5 separate regions of the Homo sapiens genome follow, and regions 2, 3, 4 and 5 are each linked to region 1. Evidence: promoter capture Hi-C in 16 types of primary human blood cells and fetal thymus (Javierre and others, 2016). All regions are on one chromosome and are shown on one strand. Each heading gives the region's core, a stretch centred on a gene start or on the middle of the fragment in contact. The rest is flanking DNA. Distances are from core to core; before and after follow the strand shown. Region 1 holds the start of THBS4-AS1 (THBS4 antisense RNA 1). Region 2 overlaps BHMT (betaine--homocysteine S-methyltransferase). Region 3 holds the start of JMY (junction mediating and regulatory protein, p53 cofactor). Region 4 overlaps HOMER1 (homer scaffold protein 1). Region 5 holds the start of MSH3 (mutS homolog 3).

Evidence for each region. Contacts are between HindIII fragments. The CHiCAGO score rates a contact against its expected background, and 5 or more counts as called.
Region 2: a contact is called between a fragment that was not itself captured here and the fragment with the promoter of THBS4-AS1 in region 1, in 2 of 17 cell types (erythroblasts and fetal thymus). The highest score is 8.3, in erythroblasts.
Region 3: a contact is called between the fragment with the promoter of JMY here and the fragment with the promoter of THBS4-AS1 in region 1, in 1 of 17 cell types (fetal thymus). The highest score is 8.0, in fetal thymus.
Region 4: a contact is called between a fragment that was not itself captured here and the fragment with the promoter of THBS4-AS1 in region 1, in 2 of 17 cell types (erythroblasts and megakaryocytes). The highest score is 5.3, in erythroblasts.
Region 5: the fragment with the promoter of MSH3 here is called in contact with the fragment with the promoter of THBS4-AS1 in region 1 in 1 of 17 cell types (neutrophils); the score reaches 6.2 in neutrophils.

What each region holds. Positions count from the first base shown.
Region 1 is chr5:80,081,586-80,085,887 of GRCh38, reverse strand. It overlaps THBS4-AS1 (THBS4 antisense RNA 1), which reads left to right and starts at 2,223. Exons shown (of 8, transcript NR_109930.1): 1 at 2,223-2,388; 2 at 3,351-3,528. THBS4 (thrombospondin 4) reads right to left here. Exons shown (of 22, transcript NM_003248.6): 21 at 3,343-3,482; 22 at 2,601-2,808. The coding sequence ends at 2,747. RefSeq lists an enhancer at 1-62 and silencers at 1,495-1,709, 2,825-2,914. The HindIII fragment of the contact is 5,954 bases long and covers 2,207-4,302 here.
Region 2 is chr5:79,132,148-79,136,449 of GRCh38, reverse strand. BHMT (betaine--homocysteine S-methyltransferase) reads right to left here. Exons shown (of 8, transcript NM_001713.3): 8 at 4,162-4,302. Among named protein-coding and RNA genes, the nearest start is that of BHMT, 22 kb to the right of the region's middle. The HindIII fragment of the contact is 1,840 bases long and covers 1,596-3,435 here.
Region 3 is chr5:79,233,552-79,237,853 of GRCh38, reverse strand. It overlaps JMY (junction mediating and regulatory protein, p53 cofactor), which reads right to left and starts at 1,723. Exons shown (of 11, transcript NM_152405.5): 1 at 172-1,723. The coding sequence starts at 1,203. It overlaps LOC124901011 (a long non-coding RNA gene), which reads left to right and starts at 1,831. Exons shown (of 2, transcript XR_007058836.1): 1 at 1,831-2,043. RefSeq lists silencers at 194-488, 772-1,041, 1,212-1,651, 1,682-1,731, 1,772-1,821 and enhancers at 162-581, 633-1,269. The HindIII fragment of the contact is 5,598 bases long and covers 1-2,240 here.
Region 4 is chr5:79,507,525-79,511,826 of GRCh38, reverse strand. All of the region lies in intron 1 of HOMER1 (homer scaffold protein 1), which reads left to right. It also overlaps the pseudogene RPL29P15. Among named protein-coding and RNA genes, the nearest start is that of HOMER1, 4.5 kb to the left of the region's middle. The HindIII fragment of the contact is 1,413 bases long and covers 1,854-3,266 here.
Region 5 is chr5:80,652,449-80,656,750 of GRCh38, reverse strand. MSH3 (mutS homolog 3) reads right to left here and starts at 2,099. Exons shown (of 24, transcript NM_002439.5): 1 at 1,787-2,099; 2 at 220-340. The coding sequence starts at 2,023. DHFR (dihydrofolate reductase) reads left to right here and starts at 1,768. Exons shown (of 6, transcript NM_000791.4): 1 at 1,768-2,347; 2 at 2,694-2,743. The coding sequence starts at 2,262. RefSeq lists an enhancer at 1,478-2,246 and a silencer at 1,664-2,273. The HindIII fragment of the contact is 21,768 bases long and covers 1-4,302 here.

The DNA.
Region 1 (4,302 bases), core at 974-3,473:
AGCCACGCCTCCCATTCCCCCAGTACTTAAAAAAAAAAAAAAAAAGTGAGACAGGATCTTGCTATGTTGCCCATGCTGGACTTGAACTCCTGGGCTCAAGTGATCCTCCCCATTCAGCCTCCCAGGTAGCCAGGACCACAGGTGCACACCACCATGCCCAGCTCCTCAGTCTTCTCGATCTCCATGAAAAGTCAGGAGGTGAATGGGCATTGGAATGAATTCATACTAGTTGGTGAGAGACTGATGGCCACTCAGTCCTAGAGGTGTAAGATTCAAATGAGGCTCTTACTAACCTAATGGAACTGTAATAGGAATTTGAGTCATTGTGCTAAGGTTGAGTATAACAAGTATCCAAGAAGCCCAGGGAGTTACCTGGGGGAGAGCATACCACACCTGCTAGCTCATCCCGTCAGTCTGCAACTGGCTAGCTTCTCTCAAGTGCTTCCTGATTTTCACTTTTTTTTTTTTTTGTTTTTGTTTTTGGAGACACGTCTTGCTCTGTCGCCCAGGCTGGAGTGCAGTGGCACGATCTCAGCTCACTGCAACCTCCGCCTCCCGGGTTCAAGAGATTCTTGTGCTTCAGCCACCTGAGGAGCTGGGAGTATAGGCAGGAGCCACTGCACCTGGCCTAATTTTTGTATTTTTAGTAGAGATGGGGTTTTACCATGTTGGCCAGACTGGTCCCAAACTCCTGACCTCAAGCGATCCTCCCACCTAGGCCTCCCAAAGTGCTAGGATTACAGGTGTGAGCCATAGCACCCCACCCATTTTCACTTTTCTTACTTCATTTCTTATGCAAGAAATTTTCTGAAAGCCTCAAGTTTTCTACATCAGCTTCAAAAATATAAGGAGGGCCAACTAGGAATAGGACAAGGTAGAATAATCACTTGTGTGCTGATAAATATTTAACAACCAGTTCTCTGGAGCCCTGATTTGTAGTGTTTGCCAGTTTCTGTGTAAATACTCCCACCATGGCCAATTTCAAACTACCAACCGTTTAACTGGCTCACAATATTCCTAAAACTTGAATAGTTGGCTCTTATGAGCTGGTAGGAGTTGGCTTCAGCACACTGCTGGTTCTACATGCGTCTTTGTTTCTTGTTTTGCATAAATAACAAGTTTTGTCTTCCCAAAAATGTAATAAGCTCCCTAAGGGATGGAATTATGTTCTGGATCTCCTGTGGGCCCATGGTTTCTAAAATAGTTATAGACACAAAAGATTTAACCAAGAGAGTCTGTTTCCTGTGGACATACTGCGTTCTTGGGCTTGCACAGCCGACAACAGGGAGGCTGCCCCAGGGGTGGGCATGGTGTGGGTTGCTGCCTCCTTTCACCAGCCTCACTCTCATTGCCCAGGCTGGAGTACAGTGGTGCAATCTCTGCTCACTGCAGCCTCTGCCTCCCCAGCTCAAGTGATTCTCCCACTTCAACCTCCCAAATAGCTGGGACTATAGGCAAGTGGCACCACACCTGGCTAATTTTTGTATTTTTAGTAGAGATGGGTTTCGCCACGTTGGCCAGGCTGGTCTTGAACTCCTGGCCTCAAGTGATCTGCCTGCCTTGGCCTCCCAAAGTGCTTGGGACCACAGGCAAGTGCCACCACACCTGGCCCCATTGGAGTTTTTGATGTAGGAGATCAGATGTCCTGGATTACAAGGCCACACACATCTCCAGGCTGTACATGAGAGGAGGATGTCCAGAAATCCTCCAGATCTCATGCATGCACCATTGTATTTTCTCACTGTTAAAGTCATGATAAAACTGTGGTGTTTTTTTCTTCATACATGATTTAATATATCTCTAGGAATTCTGGAATAAGAAAATATATAACCGCACAGCAATATTCTTTGAAACAAAATTTCTAGAGAATTTATAAAAATTTGCTTGGATCTTGATTTACAATTGAAATACAAGAAAGGCTAGTGTACAAATTAGGCAAGTTTCTGTGCTGTACATCCAGCTACTGGTACCACAAATAGAGGATATGTTGTGACTTTTTGAGTTGAGGAGGACTTTTATGATCATGTACACTCTACTGTCCTTTAAGAGGCATTCATTCATTCATTCTTCGTTTATTAATTCAGTAAACATTTACTGGCTATTTACTACATTCCAGGTACTGTGGGGATATTGATTGTAATGACATGATCCTTTATTGTCAATATGCTTACAGTCCACTAGGGGGAGCCAAATATATAAATAAGCTTAAGAATTACGTTGAAGGGGCCAGAATAGAAGTCTGTGGAAGGTGTGGGATGGGATGACAGCATCAGAAAGAATTGGGCAAATCTGTCCCAGGACTAGGTCAGAAAAACGCCTCCCTAGGGAAGGTGCCACCCCAAACACGTGTTTCTGAGACCCCTTACCCGAAATAAGGAGGCTGCCAAGGTGAGCATGGAACGGTTAGGCGTTTTGTATGGAGCAAACTGGGGGGACCCCAGCTGAGACCTCTGGCCTGGGCCTTGTGATTCACGCATAGGCTCATCTTATCGGCCACCGGGTCTGAGAAGAAACTACCACCCTGCAAGTTAACAGGGATCCCTCCGAGAACGGGCACCTCAAAGCCTGAGCCACGTGAGAGCAATGTCTGAGCAACACGGTTTTTAAAAATGATCTCTTCTCCTTTATTGCCACATTCACATAAAACGTTTTGATATATTTGGGTTGGTAAAAGCTAAAGAAAATTGAAGTTAAAATATATATGGTTTTAGTGTTCCGAAAAGCAGTTACAGATTGCTTCCTTGGTTTAATTATCGAAGCGGTCGAAATTCTGGGTTTGAAACTCTTGGAAGTCCTCAGGGATGGTGTCTGCAATAGGAATGGGCACAGGGAGGTTAGCGAGGCTCCTTCCACCCCGGACCCCGGACCCCCGCCCGCGGCTCAGGCGTCCTGTAGGGGGCGCTGTTAGCCCGCCCAGGACGCCCCGCAGGCCCTCGCCGCCATTTTCTCCTGCAGGCTGCTTTGCAAACCGTTGGCTTAAAGCCCAGGAGTGCTCCTTCCCGGCCGTGCAGAAAATCAGCAGGCAGAATGGATTTTGCATCTGTGATTATGTTTTAACCACATGAAAATAAAGGCTTCCTGTAAATTAAATCTGACTGGATTTCTCACTGAACCCCAAACCCTAAACCATGCAGTTAAATTCTATGGGTCTTAATTTCCACATGGATAAAATAGGATAAATGTGATCTGCTTTTTACTTCTGGTACACAGGGACTATCAGGTTTTAATGACTATGTGGTATGAGCGTTGGGCTTTTGGGGGGGAAGTGCGGTATAAAAATAAGGTGGCAGTGTTTGACTAATTCTAGTAACAATGTTGAACAGTAACGAGAATGCACATTACCATTGCAGCGATACTTGAGGTTGGACCAGATGATGTTTTCTTGAGAGAAGCAGAAAACGCCAAGTCGGCCTCCACGCATTGTGGTGTCTATGGTGACGCCAGAGTCAGCCACCAACTCAGAGCCTTCATAAAATCGTACCCTGCGGACAACACGGCCGGAGGGGCCTCCATGAAATCCAACCCGGGGTAAAGTGCCCACTGTGAGGCCCAGGGGCCCCACTTCTTATACGTACCTGCGTCTTTCTTTGCTCTGTTTTAGGCTCCATTTTTCGCTGACCTGGATTGTACTGTAGCTGTTGCCACTTACTTACTAGACTGGAAGTCCTTGAGGGCAGGGACCGTGTGTGTCCGTGTGTGTGTGGAGGGGGGTGGGGGGTGTTTCTTCCCAACTTCTGTCTCTCACAAGGCCTAACATGATGTTGGTCACACTATCAAACTTGAGTTAAAAATCAAACCAAACCAAACCTGCTATCTTGAGTGAGAAAGTTTTGTGTCTTATTGTCATGTGAGTTGCCTTGTCTAGATACCATGCTTAAAAACTTTGGCTTTTCCTTTGGTCTGATTTATATCTTTTGGTGGAATCTCAGAGCAATGATTCTCCACAGGAGACAGCACTCCCTAAGTAGAGTTGGAGGAATCTGTGGGGACACTTTGGGTTGTCACAGTGGCACTGAGTGATGGCAGCCAGGGATGCTGGATGGCGAGCAATGCCCTGGCGAGAACAATCAAAACCTGTCCTGCATTCCATACACTTCTGGAGTGTTCCTCAGACACCAGGGTAGGTAAAGAGCAACTATCAGGGCCTAGAACCTGACTCACTTTCACTTGTAAACAGCAAGTATATTTTGCACAAATTTTAATATAAACTATATTTTCCAGGGTAAATTGAGAAAATTTGTTTGAAAATTAACATTCTAAAATGTGTACCATTTGAGAAATTTACATTGCTGTCATCAACCA
Region 2 (4,302 bases), core at 1,266-3,765, 950 kb after region 1:
TGACAACCAGGATCCATGTGGGACCTGCTCCAGACCTGGGGCATCTGCCTGAATGGCCATGGGAAGTGGCTTGGGGCCTGAGGTACAGGGTCCGGGCCACGGACCGCTGGCTTGGGTCTACAGGCCAGGCTGATATCATGTGCCTGAATGCTGGGGAGTAGTCCAGGCTGGAGAGAGAAATCTGGGAGTCATCAAGCTGCTGAGAATGGCCTGATGGAAGGAAAAAAATCCTGAGGTGTCTAGCTCCCAAATTCCACTCTCCTATTCTCAAAATGTGAGAAGCCAGCTCTCTCCCTTCCTAGGTAGATGAAGGACTCTAAACCAAAAATTACTCACTTGATGATTTTTAGAATATTTAGCTTATGCAAATCTACAAAGAATTCTGAACCTTGAAAATAGAAACAGTTCATAATATGAAAAACCACAGACCCAAGTCTCCTTAGAAAACAGTACCTGTGGGGAGGAATGACATTTTCATTTTTCAGCACCAGGCTGAGTCTAGGGTAGTAACATTTTCCCTGCCCTCTGAACAGTGTTACTTGTTTTAGTCGGCTGTCTGTTTAGCCAGGGGAATAATTAATTAACAATTTCAGTCCGCTGGAAACATACCACCAAGTGGCATTCAGTAAATATTTATTGACAATGATGAGGCTATTATTTATTTATATCATCAAATCGCAAACAACTGTGGAGTTTTCCAGCAAGGCATTAGAAACTTGTTATCCTACAGTTGAGAAAATTGAAGGACAGAGAAGTGGGGTGATTTACCCAATGTTCTGCAGGGAGTTGGGGCAAAGCTAGGACTTGCACCCCAAAGTCTTGATTCTAAATGTCTTCCTTGCTTTTTCTGCTATGTGCCACTAGTGTTTTTGAGCCATAGGTGAATTCCACTAAGCTACCTCAGGTGTTTAGGACGTTAACTTTTGCAAAGAACAGTAAAATCTCATTAAGTCAGAATAATTGGAAGAATGACCAGGCTGACTTGAGAAAAAGTCTGAACTATTTAAAAAGATATTCAGCTTTTTCCTTTCAAGATCATGTAGTAAATTGGAACAAATAACCACAGAATGGGGCCAAGCAGAGGTCTTACTGAACCTGCCCAAAAGAACAAACTGGAATAATTTCTGAAGGGTACATTAACAGTTTGCATGCAAGTGATGACTGCTAAAGATAGTTCAGGCATTTAGAGAAATATCTTTTTATTAAAAATAAGTGAAATGTTTCCCTTAATACATTTCATGTAAGTATTTACATAGGAAACTTTCATAAATTTATTTATTTTTATTTTTATTTATTTATTTTTTTGAGATGGAGTTTCACTCTTGTTGCCCAAGCTAGAGTGCAGTGGTGCGATCTCGGCTCACTGCAACCTCCGCCTCCCAAGTTCAAGTGATTCTCCTGCCTCAGCCTCCCAAGTAGCTGGGATTACAGGCGCCTGCCACTACGCCCAGCTAAGTTTTGCGTTTTTAGTAGAGATGGGGTTTCACCATGTTGGCAGGCTAGTCTTGAACTCCTGACCTCAAGTGATCTGCCTGCCTTGGCCTCCCAAACTGCTGGGATTATAGGCGTGAGCCACCGTGCCCAGCCTGGAAGCTTTAATAAATTTAAATGTAAACATCTAACCATCTAACCACAAGTTAAAATGATCATGCGTTTGATTTCATGGCATATAAATTAACCTGTTTTTACTGTTTTGCTGTACATGACTTGTTTGGTATTATTCCTGTAACTCACAGCAGCATAAATGATGACATCTGTCTCTCTCATTTTCCATCATCTTAATTTTTCATCTATCCAATGCCAACAGAATGCCTCCAGCTGCTTGAAAACCGGAAGCATTTTCTGGCCATTCCTTTCTCTCACCACACTCCCACCAATTTTACCAAAGGATCCTACCCTTCCTGTTACCATTTTTGAGAATTCTTTGCATTTGCCTGCCTTTCATCATTTTCTGTTCAAACACTAAATATTCCTTCCTGAAGATGTTTAGAAATATTATACCTTGCTATCTCTAATTCTGTCGTTTAACATCCCACCAGGCATACTATTTCTGAAGCCGTTCATAAGTCCTATTTTTCTCTCTTGAAATTGACTTCTTCCTCCTTTGTTATCTAAGAGCCAGGGTCCTTGACCTGGCAGGTAACACGTGGGAGGTTCCAGACTGACTGAGTGGATGTTATTGACTATCAAGGAGGCTATTTGGGAGAACAGTCTATAAAGCCCTCAAGCCCTTCAGTGTGCTGAAGGCTGGAAAAAAAAAAACGTTTCTGGGGAAAATGGGGATCTAGTTGGAGATGCATAAAGCCTGCCTGCCTGCCTGCTCTCCTGCAGTCCCTCCCCGCCCTCCTTCCTCCCTCCCTGCCTCTCTCCTCCCTCCCTCCCTCTCTCCTTTCTTTCCTTCCCTCCCGTTCTCCCTCCCTTTTTCCCTCCCTTTCTCCCTTCCTTCCTCTTTTTTAATTCCTGACTCAAACTTGTTAAAGGCTTTTCTTGATGGGTGCGTTGTCCTGGATGTGATTCAAAGATCCACATGTCTTAAGAAAAAACTGACCAAAACTGTTAGAGCTTAGCCTGATGAAATAACTTAAGTTCAAACAAAATAAGGTTACTCATGCATTTCCTGCTGGCGACCTGCTGCCCCCATCTGGAGAAGTTGGGAACGGATGTTCTTGATTCATTCCTGCGCAGTTCTTGTTTCCTTTAGGGGTCTGCGTTGGCTTGGCTGTCTTATCCAAAGGTGGTTTGCTACAGTGTGTAGAAGTGTCAGAGTACAAACTGCAAACAGTTTATTTAGTGAGTTCATGTTTACTCTGAGTAACGCCAAAGACCTTTATTTTATTCCTGGCTGGAGGATGACTCCTTAGTTTTGTGGACCATCTGTTCTGGTACTGCCCCCCAGCTTCCCCAACCCTTCCTACAAAAGGCTAAGCTAAAGCCGTCTTTCTTGACAGCCTTGGAATAGTGAGAAGTGCTTCCTGACTTTGCATCCTGCCTTGGTAATCTTATCCTTAAAAGGATAGTTTGGACTTTTGATCTCTAAGGTCCCTCTGGTTCGGAGTCCATAAAAAATATTTACCAGTGAGAAATGTCTATTTAACATAAATCAACTCTTAGGTATTAAATGAGCTTTCTCTCTTAATGAACAAGATTTCTGGAAATAAAATGCACATGTTTGGAGGAGGGACTGAAATTTTAAAAACAATTTCAAAATATGAACTATACCACTAGGAGGCAGTGTTGACATATAATTTAATTCAAGAATGTCTTTACCATAGCTCCTTTTCAGAAAAATATTTTAAAAAACGATGGATATAAAAATGATTAAAGGTTATAATATTTTGGTGGCAACAAAACTCTGAAAAGAATATTAAAGGAACATGCATTTTACACAGTAATAGAACAGCAAGTCCAATAAAATGTCATCTGTGAGTGAAAGCTTTAAATACTGAGCTTGGTTTGAGAATATAAGAGAAATGATAGATAACAACTTTGCCAAAAAAAAAAACAAAAAACAAAAAACAAGTGGAGTTCACTCTTGTTTCCACTAGCCATATGCAGCCTCTGAAAGTTGTGCTGCTTTGGCTCTGTTTCTGTGCATTGAGGGATTAGGGGTGGATTATTAACTCTTAGTAACAAAATTCTAGCAATTTCTTTGCCTTTCCATTTATTTATTTATTTGACAGAGTCTCACTCTGTCTCCCAGGCTGGAGTGCAGTGGTGCAATCTCAGCTCACTGCAGCCTCTGCCTCCCAGGTTCAAGTGATTCTCATGCCTCAGCCTCCCGAATAGCTGGGACTACAGGTGTGTGCCACCACACCTGGCTAATTTTTGTATTTTTAGTAGAGACAGGGTTTCACCATGTTGGCCAAACTGGTCTTGAACTCCTATCCTCAAGTAATCCGTCCACCTCCCAAAGTGCTGGGATTACAGGCGTAAGCCACCACACCTGGCCTATTTTTGTTTTCTAGAATTCCCTGACTGGCTCTCCAGAAAGAGCCAGTAGGGCCTCTTTTCCTTTTAAATACTGCCACCTGCTCCTTTAAAATTCCAGCATACTTGTGAAGTAGGTTTTTCTTTTAAATAGGTGAAGAAATTGAGGTATAGAGGTTTCATGTAAGACTTAGCAAATTGTAGAACCAGGATAAGAATAAAATACAAGCAATATAGTCTCATTGCTCTTCTTTTTAATAGCTGAAAAGAATTACAATTTCAAAACAGCTCAAACAATTCAATAATGTTTAGAAAGCTGCATGACCTCTTTTCTAATACACTGAGGGTAGTCATGTTTCTTCTAATAGTCTTGTA
Region 3 (4,302 bases), core at 474-2,973, 850 kb after region 1:
GCCACCGAGAGGGATGAAGGGCAAGGTAGATCAGGAACCCCTCTTGGTTTCCGCTTGTCCAGAAAAACAACCGTCCTACTGCGCACACCCGACACCGAGGCTCCAGCCTTTGGTTTGGCCAGTAAACCAAAAGCGACCAGTAGAGCCCAGACTAGGAGCTCACTCACTCACCTCCTGGATGCGCTTCCTGGCCCGCTGAAGCACTTCTTCGTAGCCCTTCTGCCGCAGCTCGCTGAGGCTTTCGTAATACTCCTCGGGATCATCGGTCTCGGTGAAGAGCACCTGGGAGAGGATCTTCCAGCCGCAGGTGTCCAGGCCGTGGCCCAGGTAGACCTGGAGCTGGTAACACAGAGTGTCGATTTCCTGCTCGGTCATCTCGGGGGCGCCCCCAAACAGCACAGTCCACATGCCCGAAGGTTCCTCGGGGAACACCGGCAGGCACGGCTCCAACTGCGAGTTCACCGAGCACAGCTGCTGGTGCACGGCGCGCAGGTCCTGGAAAGAAAACAGTCCGGCCCAGCTGCACTCTTCGGCCGGAGACTCCAGCTCGGTGGCGGGCGGCGGCTGCTCCGCGTCCGAGAGCGCCAGAGGTGCCTCGTCCTCCTTCACCATTTCCAGCACCTCTATCTCCTCGGAGACCGTCCCAGAGGCGCTCACTATCCGTACAGAGGACACCTGGGCCTCTCTGGGCGCCGGCCGGGCTGCTGCAGCGGCTGCCCCCGCCGCATCGTCGGCTTCAGATGTTTTCTGACCCGGGATGGGTTTGGCCCGCACTGGGCTCCTAAGACGACTCTCCGCCCCTTTGCTGCCAGGACTCCGCAGCCGCGGGTCCCCCAGAAGGCTGCGAGTGCTCCGAGGAGAGCCGCCCTCCGCCCAGGCCGAGCTCCGCCGGGGCCCGGGGCTCCTAACCAGAGTTGCAGAGGCAGTGGCCTCGGGCCGACCCCTGCCCGCCGGGCTGCCGGGCCCGCGGCTCCCGTCGGACGCAGCTCCGCCGGCCTCGGCGCCCCCTCGCGCCCCCGCTTGCTCCCGGGAGCCGCTCCTCTGCCTCTGGGCCGTCCGGTTGTGGCAGGTTATGGCAAACTTGCCCTCAATCTCGTTCCAGGCCACAATAAAGACGAATTTGTGTTTCTCGCGCTCGTCGAACACATGGGGCCGCACAGCCACCCAGTCCGACTCGAGCGTCTCCTCCAGCGCGAACGACATGGTGGCTCCGGCTTCTCGCCGCGGGGAAGGGCCGCCGGCCCGGCCCGCCCGAGGACTCCCCGCTGGCTGCGCCGCGCCCCCCGCTCACCCTCGCCGGGCGCCTTCAGCCATCTTAGTGCGCCGGCCGGCTCTCCCGGCTCGTTCGCCTGTCCCTCCGCGCCCCGACCGCCGAGCTCCTTTGTGGCGCGGATCGAGAGAAGGACAATAAGCGTCCCGGGAGCAGGTAGTTCACATGGTCACCTGCGGCCGGATCTGTTTACAAGCTCCGCGCTGCCGCAGCGCCTCGCGGCCGCCCGCCGCCCCCCGCGCGAGGCCGTGGAGCTGCGTCTGCGGCGCTCCGGTGGTGAGGCGCGGGTCCCGCGGGGTCAGGCCGGCGCTGTATGCGTCCCGGTCGCTCGCCCAGGTCAAGATCCCCGCCCCCGCCCCTGGTGCTGCTGCAGAAAGCCCGGAGCCGGCCTGACTGATGAACCCGTCTCCTAAACTCTGCGCCTCAGCATCGCCACAATGTTGCCATTCGACTGCTGACGTCGGCGGCTCCACGAGGGACGTAAACATGGGCACGTGCCGCACGCTGGTGACGCGGCGGCGGCGGCGCGCGCACCCCGCCCGCGCGCGCCGGCGCCTCCTCTCGGCGTCCCCTGAGCCAGCCCGCGAGCGGCCGCGCTCCCGACTCTCCTTCCTTCCGCGCAGCCTCCAGTTCCCCGGGGCTGGAGCCGGCTGTCGGCTGGTTGCCGGCTCCGAGGGCGATGAGAGTGGCAGGTGTGCCCTGCTGCACAGGTGGCCTCCGAACCCGGGAAAAGAGGAACTAAGGCGGAGGAACTGAGACGTTTCGAATTCCAGGTATTGAGACCCTCGAATGTACATTTGCCTCCATTCTCCTGGAGGGAGCCCGGACGGAGAGTCGCTCCTGCGTTCAGAAGTAGCGTGTTGCCGCGGGGAACGGTGTGCTGAACTATGTGGGGCTCGCCCCCAGCCTGTTAGGTTCTCCCCTAATGCCCTTGAGACCAAAACAAAAAACAAAAACAATTCCAGAAGCTTTTCTGGAAAGACAGAGTTTAATATATGAAAGGAAGGTGTCTGAGGAAAGCCCAGTAACAGTCCAAAACAAAATGAAAAATGAAAATGCCATGTCCTAACAGCATGAATGTTTACATTTCAGTTCATTGGTGTTTTATTGCTTCAGGTTTCATCATTATGTACTGTTCTGTGAACCTCGTTTTGAGGTCACTGGGCTTTAGCCCTTTTGAAGTTGTATTCAATTATGGGAGTTCCCAGAATGCATATACAAAAACAGTCATATCAATCTCTGCTATTCTTACTAAACTATGATGAAACACATTCTTAAAATTAGTAGACTTTATAATAATTATTGGCATTCTTTTTCCGATTAGTATTCAAGTCACAGATGTTGTGCACCATAGTAAAGCACAATGGAAATTAGTTCTTTTACATTTATTCACATTTCTAAAGTATATACAAAACCGTTTGGATTAGCCTTGTATTGTTAGGTTCAGTAAAAACAGCTGTTTATTCAGATGACAGAACAGTACTGAACTAGCTAAGCTTCAAACTTAGTTCAGTATTGTCCATCTTAAACTCTAAGCTTCAACACTTGGTTCAGTATTGTCCTGATATTTGAATAAACAGCCAAAAAAAATTTTTTTTTTGAGACAGAGTCTCACTCTGTGGCCCAGGCTGGAGCACAGTGGCACGATGTCAGCTTACTGCAGCCTCTGCCTCCCGGGTTCAAGCGATTCTCCTGCCTCAGCCTCCCAAGTAGCTGGGATTACAGGCACACACCACCAAGCCCGACTAATTTTTGTATTTTTATTAGAGACGGGGTTTCTTCATGTTGGCCAAGCTGGTCTCGAACTTCTGGCCTCAGGTGATCCGACCGCCTTGGCCTCTCAAAGTGCTGGGATTACAGTCGTGAGCCACTGAGCCCAGCTGGTTTTTAACATTTTGTACAGTTCATTATTTGAAACCACAAATTTTCAAAGTTTGTAACTGAGTTTGTGTCAAATCTCAAATGCAAGTCAGAGACACGTTCTGAAAGGCAAAAAAGAGAGAAAACCCATTTCAAATCTGAATTACGGGGCTGGGCATGGTGGCTGACGCCTGTAATCCCAGCACTTTGGGAGGCTGAGGTGGGCAGATCACTTGAGGTCAGGAGTTCAAGACCAGCCTGGACAACATGGTGAAACCCCGTCTCTATAAAAAATACAAAATTAGTCGGGTGTGGTGGCACGTGCCTGTAATCCCAGCTACTTGGGAGGCTGAGGCAGGAGAATTGCTTGAACCCGGGAGGCGAAGGTTGCAGTGATCTGAGATCATGCCACCGCACTCCAGCCTGGGGGACAGAGACTCCACCTCAAAAAAGAAAAAAGAAAAAAGGTTTGAATTACCAGCTAAGCAAACAATAGCACATTGTAGAAAACTTTCTCTTCTTTTTTGCTAAAAAGCAACTGCAAAAAGCTAGTTTTTCTGATAAAGCATTACTGACATGATCCCATTATGTATAATTGTGAATACAGAGAATGAGTATTAAAAGAATTTGTTTACAAGTTCTCTTCAGAGTAGAGGACAAGAAAAAGAAAAAAATTATTATTTAAAAAAATAGTCCGGGTGCGGTGGCTCACGCCTGTAATCCCAGCACTTTGGGAGGCTAAGGTGGGCAGATCGCAAAGTCAGAAGTTCGAGACTAGCCTGGCTAACATGGTGAAACCCCGTCTCTACCAAAAATCCAAAAATTAGCTGGGCGTTGTGGCAGGTGCCTGTAATCCCAGCTACTCGGGAGGCTGAGGCAGGAGAATCGTTTGAACCCGGGAGGCAGAGGTTGCAGTGAGCTGAGATCGTGCCATTGCACTCCAGTGCCTGGGCAACAAGAGCGAAACTCCGTCTGAAAAAAATAAAAAATAATAATATTTTGGCTGGATGGCTGGACACAGTGACTCATGCCTGTAATCCAAATGCTTTGGAAGAATTGCTTGAGCCCAAGAGTTTAAGAGCAGCCTGGGCAACATGGGGAGACCCTGCCTCTACAAAAAAATAAAATAGACCGGGCGCGGTGGCTCCAGCCTGTAATCCCAGCACTTTGGG
Region 4 (4,302 bases), core at 1,311-3,810, 570 kb after region 1:
ACTCTGCAATTCATCGTGATGGTTTAGGTGTGTACACACGCTTGAAACTTTCTGAGGAAAGTTCTTGAATAGTACCTTCCTTTTGGAGTTAGAATTTGAAGTTTAACATGCATAACTTTGAAAATTTAGAGCATGTTGTAGGAGACGTTCCTCAGAAATTAATGACAAAGTTATAATGGTTTTAAAAACTTGAATGACAAGTGATGAGAATATATATAACTTGCATGATTTGGGGGTACCGCTAAGAGTAATTAAAATACCTCATTCTATTTCTAGCGCTGCTATTAGTAGCTTAGTGATCTGAGGCAAATTACTTGACCTCTGTGGACTCTATTTCTTACCTGTAAAATGAACGATTTAGAGATGACTTAAAGATTTCTCCAAACTGTAAAAAACGAATTGCTTTCTTTTTATTCTCCTCCTCATTTTAATGATCACTAGTTGGTTTCTGCAAGTCGATCTTTCTGATGGAGACCTTTTTCACTCTAAGCAGTTTAAGCGCTTAACGCTGAAAAATAATGGCATTTGAAAAATGTTTTGGATGAATTGCACCAATTTTAAATGAGAAAAATACTGAAAAATACTACTGTTCAAAACCTTAGAAATATGGCTTCCCTTGAGCATCTGCAGCTCTGTTTAAAACATGTTGGAGGAAAAAAAATCAAGCAGCAGTTTTTCATGTTGATGGCTGCATTTTGTCTAGACTGTGGAGTAGTAGCATCATGGAAGAAAATCAGTTTTCCAGAACCTTTAAGCTGCATGAATGCCTGTCATTTTACCAAGGGAAGCTTAGGATGAATTTTTTTTTCCCTGCCTGAGGTTTCTTTGTACAAATAGCACAGGAGGACCCCAGCCCCACAGCCCCATGCAGATGGCAGCCTGGCGGGGGGTCGCACCAGTCCTGTCCTCACGTTGGCAGATAGAGATATCTACTCTGAAGCCTCTGTAGGGGCCTGGGCACCTTTGGGAGCCTGAGCTGGAACTGAAGCTGGAGCTGCAGCCTGGGCCTTGGTTTGATCCTTGTCCTTGGCCTTTGGCCAGCACACCCTGAGCCCCTTGGCAATGCGGGCACGAGCATGCTTCCCAAGCTTGGGGTGGACAGTGTAGGCAAGTTGAGCTTGCGGCTGACACCCTTTGGGATCTTGGGCTTAACCTCCTTGGGCTTTAGGAGGGCCTTGATAGCCTTGGCATGTGCACTCATGGCCTTGGCACTGTTAGCCTGCATCTTCTTTAGGCCCTTCTTGTTGTGTTTCTTGGCAAACTGCATGTTCCTCAGGAACTTGGGGTCCACCCCCTTAAGAGATTCGTATCTTTGTGCTTCGGGTTTCTTGATACCATTTCTGTGCCATTTTTGGGACTGGTTGTGTGTGGTGTGGTTCTTGGACTTGGCCATGTCTGCACCTTAAGGCGCGGCTCCTGAAGCGCCTAGAATCTGAAGAGACAGGATGAATTTAATACTAAGGGGGCTGTTGTTTAAAGTGGGAAAGTTAGCACCACACATAACATGCATTTAGACACTTAGCATAATTAATTTGTTTATAAATGAATGTATCTGCCCTTTAGTTAATAAAGTTCTATATATGGACTGAGGAGAAAAAGGAGCGAGCATTTTGTGGTGCTATTTTTTTTTTTTTGGAAAGCCTGTATTTGGGGCTATGACCCTTTCTCATTGATAGTGACTTGAGTAGAGAGAGGAAGGGTAGATGGAAGTAGAAGAGCATACAGCAAAGGCATTTGCTGACGTTTCCACACTTTATGCGTATTTATGCCTAATAAATGTTTGTGGAATTAGCATAGCTGCCTGGACCTATTTCAAGCAAAAGGAAACAGGGCTTTAAATGGCTTTTAAAGCTTTACCTTGGCAATCCATAATTACCTTACTGTAATAGATATCTAAAATTTAATACTGTGGGTAAAGTGTTTCACATATTACAACCTTCTTTTTTTAAACTAATGTTAGGTTATAATAAGGATTTATCTTCGTCTTAATTGTAGATAATTATTGCAAGTCTAGGGGCAGTCTAAGCAAAGGAATTATTTTTAATAAAATCAGTGATTGGGCAGAAAAAAATTATGGCTCCCCTAATAGTAGTTTATGAACTTTTTGGAAATGGAGAAGAACAGCTGAAACTTGACAGTTGGCAAAGTCTGTCAAAGTATCTTGGATGTTGCATGAACTGTTAATTGCAGTGAAGGCAACTAAAGTATGGGTTTGTAAAATAGGTGTATCAGATCCCCTAAAAATTAAGGCATTCATGTATGTAAAATGAAGTCTCTGAAAAGTTTTGAAGCCTCAGTGAGGAGCCCCTGTTAGGTATGACCCCCACCCCCACCTCCAAATAGTATCTCATAATGACAGCAGTGAGTCAGTAGCTATTTCAGAACTATCACAGTAGGCAACAGAAATCAAGTAACTTCAACCACTTATTTCATGAAACCCTTTGTTTTTACTTAGCTCATTTTGGCAACCTAGTGCCATCAGCAATGGTAAAGAATTCTTTCCCTCCCTTCCCTTATTAAGAGCTACTTATACATAAAATGGGGCTCTCCCTGCTAATGGAATCTGTTAATGCTGTTTCTGATTTATCTCACCTGCCTATGGGAACTTCTGGAGTCCTTCCTTCCCCTCTTTCCCCAAATAACTTCCAGAAGCATGGAAATGAGTGCTGCTACATTGCAGCCCAAACTGAGTCTCTTTGCTGAAAGATGGGAAGCTGACACCTCCTTCTGCCTCAAACTGCAGGGTTCTGCTCTCTAGGGGTTGTAGCAAAAATGTGAAAATCTTGATCCAGCACTATAAATGGGTTTTATTGCAAAGATAACCACCCTATCATATCTGACAATAGACAACTTAGATGCAAGTCCTTAATTCGTCATTTGTTCATTTTACCAACTTTGAACCTTTGTTATAGTGCGTGTACTTACCTCAGTGCTGCTGATAGGAAGGCCAATACAATGTGCTCCTTCCCTTAGTGAGTTTATACTTTGGAAGTTGGGCAGACAGTCAAGCCTAAAATTAAAATGTGCAATGAAATTTTGTAGGAGCTATAATGTAGGGCATTATGGAGACACAAAGTGTGTGTTGGGGGGGCATTAGCTGCTGAGGGAAGGATAAAAAGGCTTTGTAGAGGAGGTGATAGTTGTTAAATACTGAAAGATGAGTACAAGTGAGCCTCTTAGACAAATAAGAGGGCATTCAAGGCAGAGAGAACAGTGATTGACACCACTAAAACGAGGAACTGCAAAGGAGTTTGGCATGACAAGCTTGTTTGCTTGAGCTAGCTCCCTTTGGTGTAGCAAGAGATAGGTCTAGAGCCTTATTATGCAGGGACTGGGTTGGAGAACCATGTAGATCAAATGAAAGATTGGATTATCCTGTAGTTTAGTGTGTTTAGAGGTTTTTTTGGCTATGACCCGTTGGAAAGATAAGCATCTTTACATTGCAACCCAATATGCTTGTATATAAATGATAAAATGTCACTACATAATACCCTTGCTTTGTATGGTACACTCTGGTAGTTTCTATTCTGTTCCGTTCTATTTTATTTTTAAGATAGACTGATGATGGTGACCCACTCAATTTATTTAATGACGCTGTGTTAGCAACTGGTAATTTGAAAAGCACTTCTCTTCTGTGTGAAGATTACTAAAGGGTTTTAAGCAGAGTAAGAACATGATCAGGGAAGTAGAATAAGAAAGCAATTTTAAAAATCATTTACAATTTGGTTTTGTGTCTTGTATCCTGTGGAAACACCAAGCCAGAACAATGAACTCTGGCTGGGTAGAGGAAGTGGACAGTTGGGCAGGCCCTGGAAGGTTCCGAAGTGGGGAGGGGAGGGATGGTGACTGAGAGATGTGTAGTTGGCTGAACGGGGCTTTTTCAGAATTAGGACATTTCATTGGAGAGGTAAGAATGTAGCAAAGAGCATGGTATGTTCTTAGCAGAGTCACTAACTATGGGTCATAAAATAGTGAATTTGGGAGTTAAGGGGTTGACAGAAGAAACTGTCCTTATTCATAGTTTATAGTTTTGAGTGATTAAACATCTCAGAAGAAAAGGTGGTTATATCCCAAAAGGTCTAACCTCTCTACTGCCATGTGATTTTTTTTTTTTTCAGTCTTTAGTGTTTAGTTGAAGTATTTATTTTTAGTTACTGGATTGTTATTTCAGATTAATATGACTAACTGGACAGAAGAGTAGGGAAAATGAGTGCCGAGTGCTTAATGTTTTCTGATATAATTTTTTTCTGATGTAGTTTTTAAATGACTATAAAACATTTTACATAGATTTATATCTCAGGT
Region 5 (4,302 bases), core at 850-3,349, 570 kb before region 1:
GGGAGAACTACAGCTAAATTGCAGAATTGTAGCTCTACCATCCCCTTAACCTCCTATACACATCACCATCACCTATAGGGGGCCACTCTGCTCAGGAACAAAAGGGACCTTTCTCCACAAAGAAAAAAGACACAATTCTAATACGCTCTTCTGCCCTCTGGAGAATTCCAGAATACCAGAGCCATGACTGAGGAGAAAAAAGAATCCCCCACAACTCACCAGAGTTGCCAGACATTCCCAGATCACTTCCTCCTTCCTTTTGTTGGACTTTCTTTACTTTCTTTTTAACAGGCCCATCATTTTCCAATGGTCTCTTCTTTCTTCTGTCAATTTCTGTAGCCTATATCGGGAAGGTTAGAAAATGATGTGTTATCTCTACTCTGAGAAGGCCTGACGTATGTGAAGCAATTTAAACCTTACAACTGAATGACAAGGTTCCTTGCCATCCACTCTTCAAAGAATCCTCTACTTTTAGCTCTGGAAAACCCTATGGGTGAACTGTTTTTAACACCATAAAAGACAAGGTAGAGTCTGATAGTCAGGAGCCTCAGCAACTCAAGCCGTGTTTAGAATTAATTGAAACCAAGGCTGCTACCGGTCTTGATTCAATGAGCCTTCAGCTTTCTCTAATTATAAAACTTGAATCACCCTACTTACATATGCTAAATAAAATACCTCTAAGAAATAAACAGTTATGTAGCAAAGGCACAGAGGGGAAAAGATAGGTAATAAAAGAACAGTATCATTTTTGACATGTTCACTGCAATTTAAGTGTTTCCTGTTTAAAAGGTTTATGTTCATCACTAAAGATGTGACAAGATTATGAATTTTTTCTTGGCAGAAAACTTGCCAAAAGCATACATAAGTCCTTCACCAGCTACCCTTTAAATGGTGGGTGCAAAATTTTGGTGAATTCATGAAAACGTAGCTCGTCCTCAAAAAAAACAGAAGAGGAGTAATCATTTTAAGGGAGAAATATATACGAAAGGAACAAGATTTTGAAGCACCCAAGCTGCCACCTACATTAAAACACGGTAGGTGGCTAAACACCAGTCTTCAATGCCCTTCCACAGCCTCAATCTGAAAAATACTGTGCAGGTGACCCAAGTGAGGGGTCACCCTTGGGCTTTTCCTGTGGCAGTATCTCTGGTTTAAAAACAAACAAACGTACTTATTGCGTTGAAGGATGGCAACAGGAAGGACTCCATGATTAGTCACATCTATACCATCCTAAGAAACTTTATCCACCCAAACTGTATTTCAGACTTTATAATCTAAACTACAAAAAGAGTTCACTGGGGAACTGCACAATATGACTGCTTTTAACCGTAGTGATTTCAAATATTGAGCCATGCTGTTGCAGTCTTAAAAACTGGAGACCTAAGGGCAGCTTTCTTCTAGTCACCCAATCCAGCACTTTTTTAAAAAATCAGTAAAACTCTTCGACCACCAAGGAAAAAAAAAAAGGATGGAGGTTAAAAGACGCACCCCTTGCCCACAAGCCCCCTCATCAGAATGGGAGTCAGGAGACCTGAGTTCCTGTCTCAGGCCTGCCATTAAAAACCTGCATAACCTTTGCCTATCTCCTCAAACGGAAGTACTAAAACCTCAGCGCTTCACCCAATTTGTAGCCCCGGCTGGGCTCTTCCCACCTTCCCCTTCTTCAGCCCGCCCCTTCCTCCTCCAGCCCTATCATCGGGCGGAGGGTCCCCGCCTCCGCCCGCCTTACCCACAAGCCCCGCCCCCCCAGCCCCGATGGCCCTGCCCAGTCCCAGACAGAACCTACTATGTGCGGCGGCAGCTGGGGCGGGAAGGCGGGAGCTGGGGGCGCTGGGGGCGCTGCGGCCGCTGCGGCCGCTGCAGCCGCTGCAGCGCCAGGGTCCACCTGGTCGGCTGCACCTGTGGAGGAGGAGGTGGATTTCAGGCTTCCCGTAGACTGGAAGAATCGGCTCAAAACCGCTTGCCTCGCAGGGGCTGAGCTGGAGGCAGCGAGGCCGCCCGACGCAGGCTTCCGGCGAGACATGGCAGGGCAAGGATGGCAGCCCGGCGGCAGGGCCTGGCGAGGAGCGCGAGCCCGCGGCCGCAGTTCCCAGGCGTCTGCGGGCGCGAGCACGCCGCGACCCTGCGTGCGCCGGGGCGGGGGGGCGGGGCCTCGCCTGCACAAATGGGGACGAGGGGGGCGGGGCGGCCACAATTTCGCGCCAAACTTGACCGCGCGTTCTGCTGTAACGAGCGGGCTCGGAGGTCCTCCCGCTGCTGTCATGGTTGGTTCGCTAAACTGCATCGTCGCTGTGTCCCAGAACATGGGCATCGGCAAGAACGGGGACCTGCCCTGGCCACCGCTCAGGTATCTGCCGGGCCGGGGCGATGGGACCCAAACGGGCGCAGGCTGCCCACGGTCGGGGTGGCCGACTCCCGGCGAGAGGATGGGGCCAGACTTGCGGTCTGCGCTGGCAGGAAGGGTGGGCCCGACTGGATTCCCCTTTTCTGCTGCGCGGGAGGCCCAGTTGCTGATTTCTGCCCGGATTCTGCTGCCCGGTGAGGTCTTTGCCCTGCGGCGCCCTCGCCCAGGGCAAAGTCCCAGCCCTGGAGAAAACACCTCACCCCTACCCACAGCGCTCCGTTTGTCAGGTGCCTTAGAGCTCGAGCCCAAGGGATAATGTTTCGAGTAACGCTGTTTCTCTAACTTGTAGGAATGAATTCAGATATTTCCAGAGAATGACCACAACCTCTTCAGTAGAAGGTAATGTGGGATTAAGTAGGGTCTTGCTTGATGAAGTTTACCAGTGCAAATGTTAGTTAAATGGAAAGTTTTCCGTGTTAATCTGGGACCTTTTCTCTTATTATGGATCTGTATGATCTGTATGCAGTTCCCAAGGTTCATTTACCATTATTAAAAAATTTTTGTCTTAGAAATTTTATGTATGTCAACGCACGAGCAAATTATCAGGCATGGGGCAGAATTGGCAGCTGGGTGGAGGCTTCGGTGGAGGTGAGCACTCCGAAAGGAAAACAGAGTAGGCCTTTGGAACAGCTGCTGGAAGAGATAAGGCCTGAACAAGGGCAGTGGAGAAGAGAGGGTAAAAATTTTTTAAGGTTACATGACCCTGGATTTTGGAGATCTCGAATTTAAAGGTGATGCACCAGGGATGAACGCTCAGATTTTCAGTTTGAAAGCTGGCGTGACATGTAAAGGAGTGGAGAATAATGTACCATTGTAATGATGAGGCGCCTCTAGGACATCTAGGATAATTTCAGGCGTGGGGATCTAGGTGAATTGAACTGTTGGAGGGAAGGGAATAACCAAGGAAAAGAATGTGGGGGTTGAGAGATGCCCCGTTTAAAACCTAAGAGACCTGGATATTTATGGTTGTAAGAGGAGGCATGGCAGAGGAAATGGAAACAGTAAGAAAGGAGCAGATGCTGCATCTCTTTAATGGGACAGATACAAGGCATTTGGGTTTGACACTTAGGTCACTGGTAGAGATGATGACAAGAGCCCGTAGCTAAAGAATTGATAAAAGCCAGTCTCAAAAATCCCAATATAGTCTGGTAATGTTAATGTTTCTTTGGTTCAGATAGCTGACTCTCAAAGTTATTTTCCTAAGAAACTGAACCAAAAGTGGACGCTATATGTAAAAAGTTTTTATAGAAGTGTTATAAGAGTAGGATAGAGACATAATTAAACATGTTTTAAGGTAATTGAGTGGAACATTAAGCACCTATTTTTAAAAGTATGATTTAATATCAATCTACAAAGTACACAAATATAATACAATTGTATCAGACAGTTGTGACAGCACTGATTAGAGGCTGAACATTATTCTAAGTCTTTAATTCCCACAACAACCCTAGAAGCAGGAACTATTGTTATCTCTATTTTATAGATAAAGTAAACCACAAGGGGTTAACACGTTTTGTCTTGTGGGTGACAAAATGCATTCAACTTGAGCACTTTGACTCAGAATCTTTTTTTTTTTTTTTTTTAAGAGGGAGTCTTGCTCTGTCGCCCAGGCTGGAGTGCAGTGGCGCGATCTCCGCTCACTGCAAGCTCCGCCTCCCGGGTTCACACCATTCTTCTGCCTCAGCCTCCTGAGTAGCTGGGACTACAGACGCCTGCCACCACACCTGGCTAATTTTTTGTATTTTTAGTAGAGACGGGGTTTCACCGTGTTAGCCAGGATGGTCTCGATCTCCTGACCTCGTGATCTGCCCATCTTGGCCTCCCCAGAATCTTTACTATGTCATACACAATTGCAAATGATTAAAACTAAATATTGGATATAAATTGGATAATGCCAA